3 separate regions of the Homo sapiens genome follow, and regions 1 and 2 are each linked to region 3. Evidence: promoter capture Hi-C in human tissues and cell types (Jung and others, 2019). All regions are on one chromosome and are shown on one strand. Each heading gives the region's core, a stretch centred on a gene start or on the middle of the fragment in contact. The rest is flanking DNA. Distances are from core to core; before and after follow the strand shown. Region 1 has its middle 38 kb from the start of LINC01173. Region 2 overlaps LOC105373936 (a long non-coding RNA gene). Region 3 holds the start of SH3BP4 (SH3 domain binding protein 4).

What was found. The method cuts DNA at HindIII sites, captures the fragments that hold promoters and counts their contacts. A contact is called where the count stands out against the background at its distance.
Region 1: a contact is called between a fragment that was not itself captured here and the fragment with the promoter of SH3BP4 in region 3, in 1 of the 25 tissues and cell types used here (IMR-90 fibroblasts).
Region 2: a fragment that was not itself captured here is called in contact with the fragment with the promoter of SH3BP4 in region 3 in 2 of the 25 tissues and cell types used here (IMR-90 fibroblasts and mesenchymal stem cells).

Annotation. Positions count from the first base shown.
Region 1 is chr2:234,641,974-234,646,810 of GRCh38, reverse strand. No RefSeq gene overlaps it. Among named protein-coding and RNA genes, the nearest start is that of LINC01173, 38 kb to the left of the region's middle. The HindIII fragment of the contact is 9,291 bases long and covers 1-4,837 here.
Region 2 is chr2:234,625,127-234,629,579 of GRCh38, reverse strand. All of the region lies in intron 1 of LOC105373936 (a long non-coding RNA gene), which reads left to right. Among named protein-coding and RNA genes, the nearest start is that of LINC01173, 55 kb to the left of the region's middle. The HindIII fragment of the contact is 3,551 bases long and covers 1-3,536 here.
Region 3 is chr2:234,949,551-234,954,293 of GRCh38, reverse strand. SH3BP4 (SH3 domain binding protein 4) reads right to left here and starts at 2,277. Exons shown (of 6, transcript NM_014521.3): 1 at 2,124-2,277. LOC105373938 (a long non-coding RNA gene) reads right to left here. Exons shown (of 7, transcript XR_007088132.1): 4 at 4,509-4,708; 5 at 4,359-4,427; 6 at 2,943-3,696; 7 at 2,495-2,855. RefSeq lists an enhancer at 1,175-1,824. The HindIII fragment of the contact is 19,834 bases long and covers 1-4,743 here.

The DNA of each region.
Region 1 (4,837 bases), core at 647-3,146, 310 kb after region 3:
GGGAGGCAGTGGGAGTAGGGAGGCAGTGGGAGTAGGGAGGCAGTGGGAGTAGGGAGGTAGTGGGAGTAGGGAGGCAGTGGGAGTAGGGAGGCAGTGGGAGTAGGCAGACAGTGGGAGTAGGCAGCAGTGGGAGTAGGGAGGTAGTGGGAGTAGGCAGCAGTGGAAGTAGGGAGGTAGTGGGAGTAGGGAGGCAGTGGGAGTAGGCAGCAGTGGGAGTAGGGAGGCAGTGGGAGTAGGGAGGCAGTGGGAGTAGGCAGCAGTGGGAGTAGGGAGGCAGTGGGAGTAGGGAGGCAGTGGGAGTAGGCAGCAGTGGGAGTAGGGAGGCAGTGGGAGTAGGGAGGCAGTGGGAGTAGGCAGCAGTGGGAGTAGGGAGGCAGTGGGAGTAGGCAGCAGTGGGAGTAGGCAGCAGCGGGAGTAGGCAGCAGCGGGAGTAGGCAGCAGTGGGAGTAGGGAGGCAGTGGGAGTAGGGAGGCACGGGGAGTAAGGCAGCAGTGGGAGTAGGGAGGCAGTGGAAGTAGGGAGGCAGTGGGAGTAAGGCAGCAGTGGGAGTAGGGAGGCAGTGGGAGTAGGCAGCAGTGGGAGTAGGGAGGCAGTGGGAGTAGGGAGGCAGTGGGAGTAGGCAGCAGTGGGAGTAGGGAGGCAGTGGGAGTAGGGAGGCAGTGGGAGTAGGCAGCAGTGGGAGTAGGGAGGCAGTGGGAGTAGGGAGGCAGTGGGAGTAGGCAGCAGTGGGAGTAGGGAGGCAGTGGGAGTAGGCAGCAGTGGGAGTAGGCAGCAGCGGGAGTAGGCAGCAGCGGGAGTAGGCAGCAGTGGGAGTAGGGAGGCACGTGGGAGTAAGGCAGCAGTGGGAGTAGGGAGGCAGTGGGAGTAGGGAGGCAGTCGGGGAGTAAGGCAGCAGTGGGAGTAGGGAGGCAGTGGGAGTAGGGAGGCAGTGGGAGTAAGGCAGCAGTGGGAGTAGGGAGGCAGTGGGAGTAGGGAGGTAGTGGGAGTAGGGAGGCAGTGGGAGTAGGCAGCAGTGGGAGTAGGGAGGCAGTGGGAGTAGGCAGCAATGGGAGTAGGGAGGCAGTGGGAGTAGGGAGGCAGTGGGAGTAGGCAGCAGTGGGAGTAGGGAGGCAGTGGGAGTAGACAGCAGTGGGAGTAGGGAGGCAGTGGGAGTAGGCAGCAGTGGGAGTAGGGAGGCAGTGGGAGTAGGCAGCAGTGGGAGTAGGGAGGCAGTGGGAGTAGGGAGGTAGTGGGAGTAGGGAGACAGTGGGAGTAGGCAGCAGTGGGAGTAGGGAGGCAGTGGGAGTAGGGAGGCAGTGGGAGTAGGGAGGTAGTGGGAGTAGGGAGGCAGTGGGAGTAGGCAGCAGTGGGAGTAGGGAGGCAGTGGGAGTAGGCAGCAGTGGGAGTAGGGAGGCTGTGGGAGTAGGGAGGTAGTGGGAGTAGGGAAGCAGTGACTACAGAAGGACATGGTGAGGGGTCCCAGTTGAGATGGAAATATCCTACATCTTGACTGTATCTGTGTCAATATCCTGGTGCTGATGTTGTATTATAGTTTTGTAATAGGTTGCTATTGGGGGTAACTGTGTAAGGGGTACACAAAATCCCTCTGTATCATTTCTTAGAAGTGCATGAAGCTACAATTATCTCAAAGCAAAAAATTTAAAGACAAAAAAATGAACCTCATTCTTCTGCTTCCAGCTAGAGTGGCTAGCCAGGTTAAATAGTTTTGATATTTCTAGAACCTAGCATGGGACTCCTTTCATACACTGAAGTGAAATATCTAGTGAAAAATTGATCACAAGTTAGAACAGCCTGAAGGGCTCTGTCCATGGAAATGTCTCCTGTCCACTGTCCCCTTCATCTCAGCCTCTGTGGGGACACAGCAGAGTGAGGCTATATTATAAGATAAAGCCTTTTGTTATTTGTGATTTCTTGGGCAAGTTCTTCAACTGCTTGTTTCTGTTAGTAAAATATACACAATAGTACCTGTTTTCTGAAGTTTTTATAAAGAGTAAATATGGAAAAGTGGGAAACAATGGGTGTTCATAGCTATGATTCAGATTAAACAATAGGTAGTAGATTATTGTAATGGAATAAAGAAGGCAAAATTAGTAGAAATATAAAATTTACTGAAAATTATACAAAGGAGAAAATTGTTCTTTGTTCTGTTTTTCTCTTTATGCCTTCTTTGGATTAATCAATTATTTTTATCAATCCCTTGTTATCTCCTTCTATTGGCTTTTCTTTGTTATACATTTCTCTATTATTCTTTTAGTGGTTACTATATATTATCATACACATCCTTCACTTATTAGATATACCAGTAATTTTTTTTATCATTTCCAGGAGAATGTAAAGAGCTTACAACAAGTTAAAGCTGTTTATCTTACCTGCCTTTATACATATATATATATTTTGAGACTAAGTCTCGCTCTGTCACCAAGGCTAGAGTGTAGTGGCATGATCTCAGCTCATTGCAACCTTTGCCTCCCAGGTTCAGGTGATTCTCCTGCCTCAGCTTCCTGAGTAGCTGGGATTACAGGCATGTGCCACCACACCTGGCTAATTTTTGTATTTTTGGCAGAGACAGGGTTTCACCATGTTGGCCAGTTTGGTCTCGAACTCTTGACCTCAAGTGATCTGCCTGCCTCAGCCTCCCAAAGAGCTGGGATTACAGGCATAAGCCACCATGCCCTGCCTATCCTACCTGACTTTTGTGATAACATTTTGCATTCTGATTTTATATTTTAAGTCTCAATGCTACATTATCATTTGATACAGTTGATGATATGTTAAAATTTACACACACATTTGCCTCTTTTAATGCTCATTATTTCTTCCTGTTTTACTGTGCATTTACCTGGAATCAAAAAAATCCTTTCAGTATTCCTTTCTCTTTTTTTGGTAGAGTCAGGGTCTTTCTATGTTGCCCAAGCTGGACTCAAACTCCTGGGCTCAAGTGATCCTCCTCCCTCAAATTTCTGAGTAGCTGGGACTGCAGGTGCACACCACAGTGCCTCGATTAGTATTTCCTTTTTTAATATTAAATGACCATGAATTCTGTCAGGATTTTCTAAATCTAAAGATGTTTTTATTTCTGATTCACTGTTGGAGAATATTTTTGCTACATACAAAATTCTACATTAGTAGCTGTTTTCTTTCAAAACATTAGGTATACCAATTCCATTGCTTTTTGGTTCCCACCGTATTGGTTGAGAAATCAGCTGTCAGTCTTATTACTGTAGCTTTAAAAGTAAAGTCATAGCAAAAATATTTCCTAGTATAAAATAATTCCTATAATTCTATTTTACACACACACACACACACACACACACATATACATATAAACTAAAGTTCTTTTACATGTTCTAAGTCCATGGATACGTTTGTTAAGGTTCCAAATTAAAATGAAGAATGTAAGCTAATTCATCAATCTAGAGTACAAAAGATAGAAACAGGGTGATCACACTAATAGACCACATTCTTTTACATATTACAAACATACTAAGTTATCCATTATGCACAGATTTGGTTTTAATTTTTAAACCATTTTGCATTTAATTCTAACACTTTCTGGAGTTAAAAGATTTCTATTTGCTAAAAAAGACAGTTAAAATCTTATTTTACTGAGGTTACATAATTCTAAAATATTTGGGAGTTGATATATATAAGATTATGGAAACTCAATACATTAAAGTTAACTGAGATATCTTAGGGCCAAAGATTTTAATTGTGTAAGAGATCTTCTTATATACTAATTGAGCCAAAAGAGCTCCTTTTTAGAAATACTGGATCATGAGCCTCAAACTTGTAACAAAGTTGGTCTCAAAGCTTATGTAGCCCTTTATACCAGGAGTCACGATATTTTCATTAATTTTTAATTCAAATGTCAGATGTCAACAACTCCTACCCAGGATGATTACTTGTTTGGATTTTCTACTTCCTTTTTATTTTAAAGATATTTAAACACATTCTTAGTCAAGCTATATGGACTTTGTACTTTATGAGATTTTTAAACTTTTTTTAGAATTATGCAATTCTTAGGAATTTTTAATATTTTTATTTAATATTTATTTATTTATTTATTATTTGAGCTGGAGTCTCCCTCTGTCACCCTGGCTGGAGTGCAGTGGTGCGATCTTGACTCACTGCAACCTCTGCCTCCCGGGTTCAAGCAATTCTCCTGCCTCAGCCTCCCCCAGTAGCTGGGACTAAAGGTGCACGCCACCACGCCCAGCCAATTTTTTTTTTTTTTTTTTTTTTTTGTATTTTTAGTAGAGACGAGGCTTCACCACGCTGGCCAGGCTGGTCTCAAACTCTTGACCTCAGGTGATCCGCCCTCCTCAGCCTCCCAAAGTGCTGAGATTACAGGCATGAGCCACTGTGCCTGGCCAATTCTTATGAATGTTTTTAAAAGCTATCTGGCTAATTTCAGACATCCCACATGACTTTGCTGGAGTTGTGGGTCATAGTATTTTAGGTTATTATGACACTCCATTCTCCACATCACCCTCCTCCCTCCCTTGGACCTTGGGTGGCTTCTGCTTATAAACTTCCTGTGACAATGGAAGTATAGAGAAGAGGAGAGTGATCAGGAGCAGGATCTGAAAATTGCCCTTAACTTCCAGGAAAGGAGCAATTGGACATTGGGACATTGGGATTTTTTTCTTGTTTTTATTTATTTATTTTTTAGACAGAATCTTGCTCTGTCACCCAGGCTGGAGTGCAGTAGCATAATCTTGGCTCATTGCAACCTCCACCTCCCAGATTCAAATGACCCTCATGCCTCAGCCTCCCAAGTAGCTGGGATTGCAGGCACATGCAACTGCGTCCAGCTAATTTTTGTATTTTCAGTAGA
Region 2 (4,453 bases), core at 512-3,011, 320 kb after region 3:
AGCTAGCTATGTGTTTGGTTGCATTTACTATATATGTGTATTATTTCATTTATTCTTTATAGCATATTTTCTTCCTTTCACAACAGTAAAAGTGAAAAAACAGGATAGCTCCCTGGTCCCCCTTGCAGAATGTGCCACAGGGGTGTGGCTCACCTGTTCAGTCGCTACCAATGCTCAAACCCCTGACAGGAGGGGTATCACACAGACGGGCAGGTGCAGGAACCAGGGCAAGCGCTTTCAGCTCTGGCCCTATGGTAGTGTCTAAGGGTGGGTGCCTGCAACCCCAGTGTTACAATGCTCTTTTAGTTACGTGGCCCACAGATGACTTAAGAGTTAACCAGCTCAGTGCCCTCTCTGCCTTTCTGCAAGGGCAGAGGACCAGTGTGACAGCTTTCTGTATCCTGAGCTCTTGTCCAGGGTCCTGGAAGAATCAGCTCACACGTGGACTTGAAGGATGAATGCAGAGTTTTACTGAGTAGCTTTCAGTGGGATGAATGGGGAGCTGGGAGGGGGATGGAGTGGGAAGGTGATCTTCCCCTGGAGTTTGGCCACCCAGCAGCCAAACTCCTCTCTGACCGCCCCCAGCTGAACTCCTCTCAGCGTTCAGACATTCCTTTTCTTCTCTCTTTCTCTGCCATGCCATTCTGCCATTCATCTGCTTGTTTTCTTGTCTCCTCATCTGCTCTTGGAGCCTGGGGCTCAGGGTTTATATGGGTACAGGACAGGGGGGCATTGCAGGCCAAAAGGCAACTTTTTGGGTGTGAAAACAGAAATGCCTATTCCCATTTAGGGCCACAAATTGACAGTGAGGCCTTTCCTAGGGAACCACCCTCTTCTACTCAGTATTTCCCTGTCTCCTGTCCATATCAGTAATCTGTGATTGCTAGTTCAAACAATACAGAAGTTTAAACAATAATAAAGGAAATAACCCTTTAGCATTCCTCCCTATCATTTTCATACTTCCTTACAGATTGTTTTTATAAATAGTTGATATTTTAATTGCCCTCCTGTGCATGTATTGGACATGCATATCTATTTTACTGTGTGTATGTATATATATATATATATATATATATATATATATATGGAGAGAGAGAGAGAGTAATCTATCACAGATTTCTTGAGGAAATTTACAAAAGAGTTAGTTTTTCATGTATTGATACAGAATTAGGTCCATGACAACTTTATATAATTTCATTAAAATTTTTTTTGTAATTTACCTATATAGATATTTAAATGCAAATATTTGATATCATACTACACACATTTTGTTTCATAACTATGTTTTCAAAAAATAAAAATTAAAAATCAGAAATTTTTTAGAAGGTAAAGAGATATAAATATTCCAGAAATATACAATCAGTTAATCCAATTGAAAGTTAATTTAGCATCTTGACAACCAAGGAAATAGAAAAATATGATGAGTTTTACATTTCTCATTATGTGATAAGGCAAAGCCAACATGGTTTCTGAAAAGAAACATATTTGGACACTAAAATCTATGTGGAATCCATTACATTGATCTTTATACACCTTCAGGTATGTAGGACAACCTATCAGACACTTCTTTGACTGTGATTTTGCAAAAATAGAGAAATATCCTCTATATAAGAGCATATAACTTCTCCCTCACAACAACAAAACACCAAAGAGCTGAAGACTTAATTAAGAAATTGCTTTACATAACAATAGCAAATCTGGCAACTCAGGAAGAAGATGTGGATCTGGGGAAAATTGCAAGAGGGAATTTGTTGGGCTTCCAGCTTCTGCTTAGGATGCAGAAAGATGGAAAGGGCATTCTAACAACAGCAGTAACAACATGCCAGGTCATCTGCAAGAAGCACCACTTTTTTCAACCCTATCAGAAAGCTGAGGTTGCAGAACCACCAAACTAACCCAAACTCTGAGGAATAATCCAGACACTAAGGTCACATATTCCATAATTCTATTTATATGAAATACTCAGAATCGAGAAATCCCTAGGAACAGAAAGCAGATTACTGTTTGCCAGAGGCTGGGTAAAGGGGAGTGGAGAGTGCCTGCTTGCTGAGTACAGGGTCTCCTTGGGGGATGATGAAAATGTTTGCAACTAGATAGAGGTCATGGCTGCACTCACTGTGAAGGTACTAGATGCCACTGAATTGCACACTTTATTTCTTTTCTTTTCTTTTCTTCTTTTCTGAGATGGAGTCTTGCTATTGCCCAGGCTGGAGTGCAATAGCACAATCTCGGCTCACTGCACCCTCCACCTCTCAGGTTCAAGCAATTCTCCTACCTCTGCCTCCTGAGCAGCTGGGATTACAGGCACCAGTCCCCACACTGGGAGAATTTTTGTATTTTTAGTAGAGATGGGGTTTCTACATCATGTTGGCTAGGCTGGTCTCGAACTCCTAACCTCAGGTGATCCCCCACATCAGCCTCCCAAAGTGCTGGGATTACAGGCGTGAGCCACCGCGCCCGGCTTGTACACTTTAAAATGGTTAATTTTATGTTATGTGAATTTTACCTCAGTTAAAAAACAAAACAAAATCAAAGGAAAAGAGCTCCTGAGACAGGATGTAAATCCTTGCTTACCTCGGGCAGAAGCAAACGGACGCCAAACAAGCCAAGTAAAAAGGATTAAGCTAAAGTGTTTGACAAAGTGCTAAAGGCCAAGGGATGGCCAGAGTGGGTGCAGAGAAGCCCTAAGCATGGCAGACACAAGAGGAATTCACACCCACTAGCAGGCTCTTCTCCACACGCCTCACTGCATGCTCACCAGAAAGATCAGAAGAGACCCAGAGATGGAGAAAACCACCCTCATGGTGCACCTGGTGGAAAGGAACAGTGGCCTCAGAGATAAGGGCATAAGGCACACCTGGGACCTTCTCCCCTGTATGAGTCACAGAGCTTAGCAGAAGCAAACTAGAAATCAAAAATAGACCTATAACTGGAAAACCAACTAAGCCATGGAAATTAAATAATACACTTCTAAATAATCCATGGATCAAAGAGGCAGTCATGAGAAAAATTAGAGAATACTTTGAAATGAATGAAAATGAAATCCATATCAACATTTGTACAATACAGCTAAAATCGTGCTTAGAGGGGAAATCTATAGCATTAAATGCCCATATTAGGAAAGAAGAAAGTTCTCTTATGAATGATTTAAGCTTACACTTTAAGAAACTAGAGAAGTAAGAGCCAATTAAACCCAAAGTGAGCAGAAAAAAAGAAATCATAGCATGAACAGCAGAAATCAATGAAATGGAGAAAAGAAATATGATAGAGAAAATCAATGAAACCAAAAGCTTGTTCTTTGAAATAGTCAGTACATTTGCCATACTGATTAGAACAAAACAGAAGTAGAAGTTATCAATATTAGGAATTTTAAAAAGATATTGAAAGATGGCTGCTCAAACCTCAGGCCATATATCCATTGGAGAGGCAGTCTTCTGCCCAGTTAATAAAACAGGCTCAGGAATTGAATCTCATTGGTCCTGATGAGCCTGTTCTTGTCACATGTCCACCTCTGAGCCAATCACTGATGCCAGGGTTGGAAAGTGCTGACTGGCTTCCTCTAGGTACCACCTTCCAGTCCTGGAGTCTGGGACAGACAGAATTGTCTCATCTAAAACCTGTGGCCTCAGAGGAGAAACGTGGATGTGGGCTGCCATGCAGCAAGTAGCTCAGACATCTGGAAATACAAACTCCAAAGGAGGGCAAATGGCAGCCGACACCCCCTCAGAGCTTCCAGTAAGAAGAGCAGAGCATTCTTGAGAGCCTCCTTGTTCCATGGAAGCTTCAGCACAGGGAATGATAACCTTGGGACACCCCAGTGACCACGCCCCAGTCCTAGAGCTGACATGCCACACTTTGTCCATGTAGGACTGCCACGCCCCTTATTGACTCAGTCCTCTAAGTATTAAAGCACCCCAGGAATGGAGGAGTCCTGACCTTGCCATCCCTGGGAGAGGGTGGCATGGGGAAGAAGCAGGCGGGAAGGGACTCGGAATAGCTCTTCCTCTAGGTGTCCTCTTTTCTTGTCTCCAGCTACTGTGTTGTTCCCACCACCAACACGATGGTCTATAAGGAGAAACTTATAAAGGGCAACCTGACACCAAAAATGAGACGTCAGGTTGCCATTTCAAATCTCTAAGTCTCTCTTCTTTAGCAGAGACAAAGGAGAATGAGCAAGAAGGTCATTTTTCTCAGCATCATTTATCAAGCTGTTACCATGTAAACTGCTTTGTAATTAACATTTCCTTGCCTTATTTCTGGGGCTATAACTGTGCTTCTCACCATTATTTTGGCTTCATTACAAAGAACAGCAGTTTATTTATTAAATGACACACAGCTTGTGGGACATGAGTGTTAACTGTCAGAATAGACCTGGTTTTGTTAGAAGTACTGTTTCATTTATGATATATGGAAAACAGAACCTGGTTCTTTCCTTGAATTCCAATCCTTTTCC
Region 3 (4,743 bases), core at 1,028-3,527:
AGGCATGCTGTGAAGTACCTCTCCCCACCTGGGCCTTTGGTACCCAGAATTAACAAATGGCATGGGTTCTTATTTATTGTTTTATAAGATCACTAAAATGTAGTCTTGGGACAACAGGAAAAAAATAATAATAAAGCTCACAGAAGTGTCCTGGGCTTCTCCGCAGCCGGTCATTGTTCATTTAGTAAACAAGTGAGCCATACAAATCTCTAGGAAGCCAGGTTTGTTCAGTTTATGCGTCCTCCCAGAACTAACTGTTCTTTTGGATAAGCACGGCCCGGGCATTCCACAGACCCACAAACATCAGGCAGTGGGCAATCTGGGGTCCCGCCTAAATATCACTGCCCCCTTACTTTAAGAAATCCGCCTACAAGCAGAAAGCAGAGGTGGAGGAGGGGGATTGGAGAGCGCTGCCTCTTCCCAAGCTTCCCACTCTGAGGGATTTGGCCGAGTCCCGAGGGCACTGAGCAAGGAACCAGGAATATTGTCCTCAGGGCTCCACTGGACATTCCTGGAGTCTGTTTCCTGGGCAGGACGGCCAGGTGAGAGGCAGCCTATTACACTGCATGACCACTGCAATGAGGAACAGTAGAATGTTCCCCAGCGCCTTAAAGTACAGCCGCTGTCCATCCACGGATGTCAAAACGCTCTGCAAACCACCCATTAATTTTTATGGTGGCTTGAGAAGCAGATTGAGAATCATTACCTTCATTTTTACAAGGCAAGGAACCAAAACCACAGAGGGCGGTGAGGATCCAGGCCTCTCCCATCATTTCATCTGGGCCACGGATCTCAAGGAAAGCCCCCAGCCCACTGGGAAGGGGACTCGTGGCCAGCAGAGATTCTGCCCGGGTAGGGAGCAAGGAAAAAACCCAAACTTTGGAGCTCAGAGACGGTCACAAGGGTGAGAAGGGGCGGCTGCATTCAGGGATTCTCTGGTTTAGGCAAGAATGGCTCCAGTTCTAACTTAATGTTCAAATCTGCCAGGCTGTGACAAGGCTGGTAAAAAATGTGGGATTGGGGATGGTTTCCTGTTTGCTGTTTATATTTCTCTTTATCTCTAGCTTTCTGTCCTGAGCATACATTGTTTCTGTAATCAGAACAAAAGTTATGCGAACTTTATTATTATCACGGATAAATTCTATAGTTCCAATCTGCCTACTAACTTGGAAAGAATAAGCAGGAATACAATCTCGCACAGTGTTCTTTTTCAGATCTCATCGATCCATCAGGCTCCACGACCCTCTGCTCGCTGAGTCCGGCGGCTCTCCCGCGGCTCCTCCCGCGCGGCATCTCTGGGCGCCCGACACCCGGTCAGGGCCAGCTGGGCCTGTCCCCAACCCCCGTCTACACCGCAGGCCCCGGGCTAGGAGCCGCGGGACCCAGGGTTGGGGTCCCAACTGACACCCGCCCGTGCCGCGGAGCGGGCTTCTCGGTAAACATCGCTCAGAGAACAACGCGCCTCTATCCCAGCCGGTCCCCGCCCGCGGGCCGCCGGCGCTGTCACCTCGCGGCTGCTCGGTCACCCGATCGCCAAGCCAGAAACCGGAGTTTTCAATTTCATCCTCACAGGAGGGATCTCCGAAGAAGTTGAAATATGCATTGTCACCAACAAGTTTAACCGGAGACCGCGCGTCCTTCCCTCCTCCCCAGCGCCGCTCGAGGGGGGCGCCCCGACCCCTCCACGCCCTCCCGTGGCCCCCACGGCCCCCGTGAGCCGAGCGCGCCCCCCGATTTGCGCCCGAGGACGCGTCCGGTTGCCCAGGGAGGCCACCCCGCAGGGCCGCCCGCCGGGAAGTGGCCAGAGCCGGGGTTGGGGGGCGGCCCGAGCGCACGCGGAGGGCTGCGGCTCGGCGCCCGGAACCCCGGGCCGGGTCCCTGCCCACCAGCACCAGGGAGACCCGAGCGCCCGGGGGAGCGGCGAGGGGCGCGCGAGGCTTCCCCGAAGCCGCCCCACGCCCAGGCACCCGCGCAGCCCCGAACTCAGGCGGCGGTGGCACGATCGGCGCCCGCGGCACGATCTGCGCCCGCAAGGGAGTGCAAAGCCCCCGAGCACGACCCCGCGCCCCCGCCGGCCCCCAGGGCCCTGCCGCCCGAGGCGCTCCCCGCCGCCGCCTGCCTACCTGGCTCGCATGGCGTCCCCGCCGGCTCCTGAGGCTCCGCTCGTCGGCCAGCGGCTCGGCCCAGCCGGGGGCGCGCGCGGCTCCGCGGGACTCACGGCGGCGGCGGCGGCGGTAGTGGCGAGGGGCCCGGACCGCCGAGAGTGCCGGGCGCGCTGGGCCCCCGCCTCGGCGGGCGGAGGGTGGTCCCGCGCCTGGGCGGGGGCGGGGGCGGGGGCGGGGGCGGGGGCGCGGGGGGCGGGGCCAGGACCGGAGCTGAGGCCGCGGAGGGGGTGGTCCCGCGCCGGGGCGGGGCTTCGGGAGAGGGGCGGGGCGGGGCGCGGCCGTCTGAGGCTGGCGAGCGTGGGGCGGGCTGGGGGTGGTGCCGCGGCTCCGGGTCCAGGCGGGTATCCAGTCTGGGCGCCTCCTCTTCTTCCTCCGCCCGGAGCCGGCCAGGGTAGCGGGGCCTTGGCCGCCCGGCATCCTCGGGTCTGGGTCCCCGGTACCGAGCAGGTCTGGGTGCTGGCCCGCGCTCCTGTGCCCCCCCGCACCCCCATCTCCCACCCCTTCTCCGGGAACCCCTAGCGAGGACCCCTGGGGCGGTGCGGTCCCCCCGCGAGCGGGCGTGGGCGAGGGTCGCGCCGCGTTCGGAGACGCTTTACTACACCTTGGCTGAGGACAGTGGAGGGAAGGCAGGCGCGAGGCTGCGGGGGCCGGAGCGAAAGTTACAAACTAACAACAGGGAAGGCAGTCCGGCTGAAAATCATAAAAGGAGGAGAGTTTCCTGCGAAGCGGAATGCAGATTGAAGGGCTCTGGTCGGAATCGTTTACACTTTGTCTGACCTGGGCGCCTCTGGGCCCCCGGCGCGTAAAACAGGCCTGGCACGTAGTAGGCGCTCCATCAATGCCCAGTGAGTGAACGCACCACTTAACTATGTGGCCAGCAACGTCTATGGACCGACACATCTAATCCTAAAAAAAAAAAAAAATCCCAATTTTGGCTAGTCCATTTCACACGAGTAAACTAGAGCTCGGAGGGTTGGTTCGCCACAGAGGAGAAGGGTAGAACCAGAATCTGAACCGAGGCCGACTCCAGAGGCTGGGGTCTAACCACTGCGCCACTGCCTGGGGCCCTCGGGACTGCGCCCACCCCCACCCCGGGAACCCGGAGCCCAGGAGAAAGCGCGGGTCTTTGCCGGGGAAGAAGCCAACATTTGTTGCTCCTGGTCCTGAGCGAGACACACACAGTCAGTCCTCACCATTAACCCCGAGGCAGATATTGTTATTGTCCCCGTTTTTATAGGTGGCTTGAGACGTGCAGCACTATGTTATGATCGCATGGGGCGTGCCAGAGTCTGAATTCAAACCGGGTATGTTCAGACTCCCGAGCCCCTGCGGCTGCCCCTAAGGCCTGCCGCTCCTGCCGTCTGGGAGACCTTCCTTTCCCTAAGGAATCTGGTTTTCTGCCACTCCATTTGAAGTCTGTGTTGAAGTTTCAGGAGACACAGGTGGACAGAGGCACCGACCTAGGGCTCGGGAGAAGGGTGGACATTGCTGTTCCGATTTTGGTGTCATCTGTGTGTAGATCATGGAATTCCTGAAAATGGATACGAGTATCCCTAAAATACATGCCGCAGATTTTGAAAGGAGGCAGTGAGGCGAAGGGGCAGGTGGAGGAAGCAGAGAAGCCTCCGAGCAGAGGAGAGTTTCTGGGTGGCTAGGAGGTCTGATTGGTGTAGGGATGTGTCTGGAGTGTGCTTGAATCTCTGGCAAGTTATCTCGCCTCTCTGTGACTCAGTTTCCTAAATGAGTGTAAAAATGAAAGGCAGCATGTAAAGTGCTCAGCAGACTGCCTGGCACACAGTAGCTTTCAGTAAGTTTTAGCTACTATTAGTACTGCTATCCCAAATGACATCCACACTGTGTTTTTTAAAAAATGCCTATAAAAACATTGAAAAAGACAAGCCAGTAGAAAATGGACAAAAGCTATGAAGGTAATTCCTGAAATGCCACAAATGGCTCAAAGCATGAAAAGCTCCTTGACTATACTAGTGAGGGAGCTAAGGCAAAACATACACACACAAAAAACAATCGAATAAGAAAACTCAAGGCCTGTCCAGGCAGCTCAGTTCACTGAGCAGAGAGGGAGAAAGATACCCTAAAAACCACAAAGAACAAAGTGCCATGGAAACGCAGAATAGAACATGAATAAACAAAGCATTACAGATTTCGCCTGGGGAAGCAGAGAGTGTGTCTTACGATGTCCACATATGTATGCGCAGTACTTGCTATAGTCATGCCTCAAGCATCCTCAAACCAGTCCACATCCTAGAGAGGAATTAACAGAGGTCAGAATGTTTAAACAAAGTGGTTAAAAAAAAAAAGAAAAAAAAAACAAGAACACATTACCTTATATTCTTACTACAGTAACTGGAATTCTTCTTCAGCTCCTATGAGCCAGGGAGACAACATTACTGGTTTAGATGTAAGTTGTTTATGAACTGTTTTCTTTTTGTATCCTGGAAGGCAGAAAGGTCTCTAGATGTTGCTTCCTGTTGAATGTGTGCTTTTTTTCCACCAGTTTTTGTTACTTGCTCTTCTAAAGGCCTCTGGATCAAAAGAAAAAAAAATGAGCTATTCATTC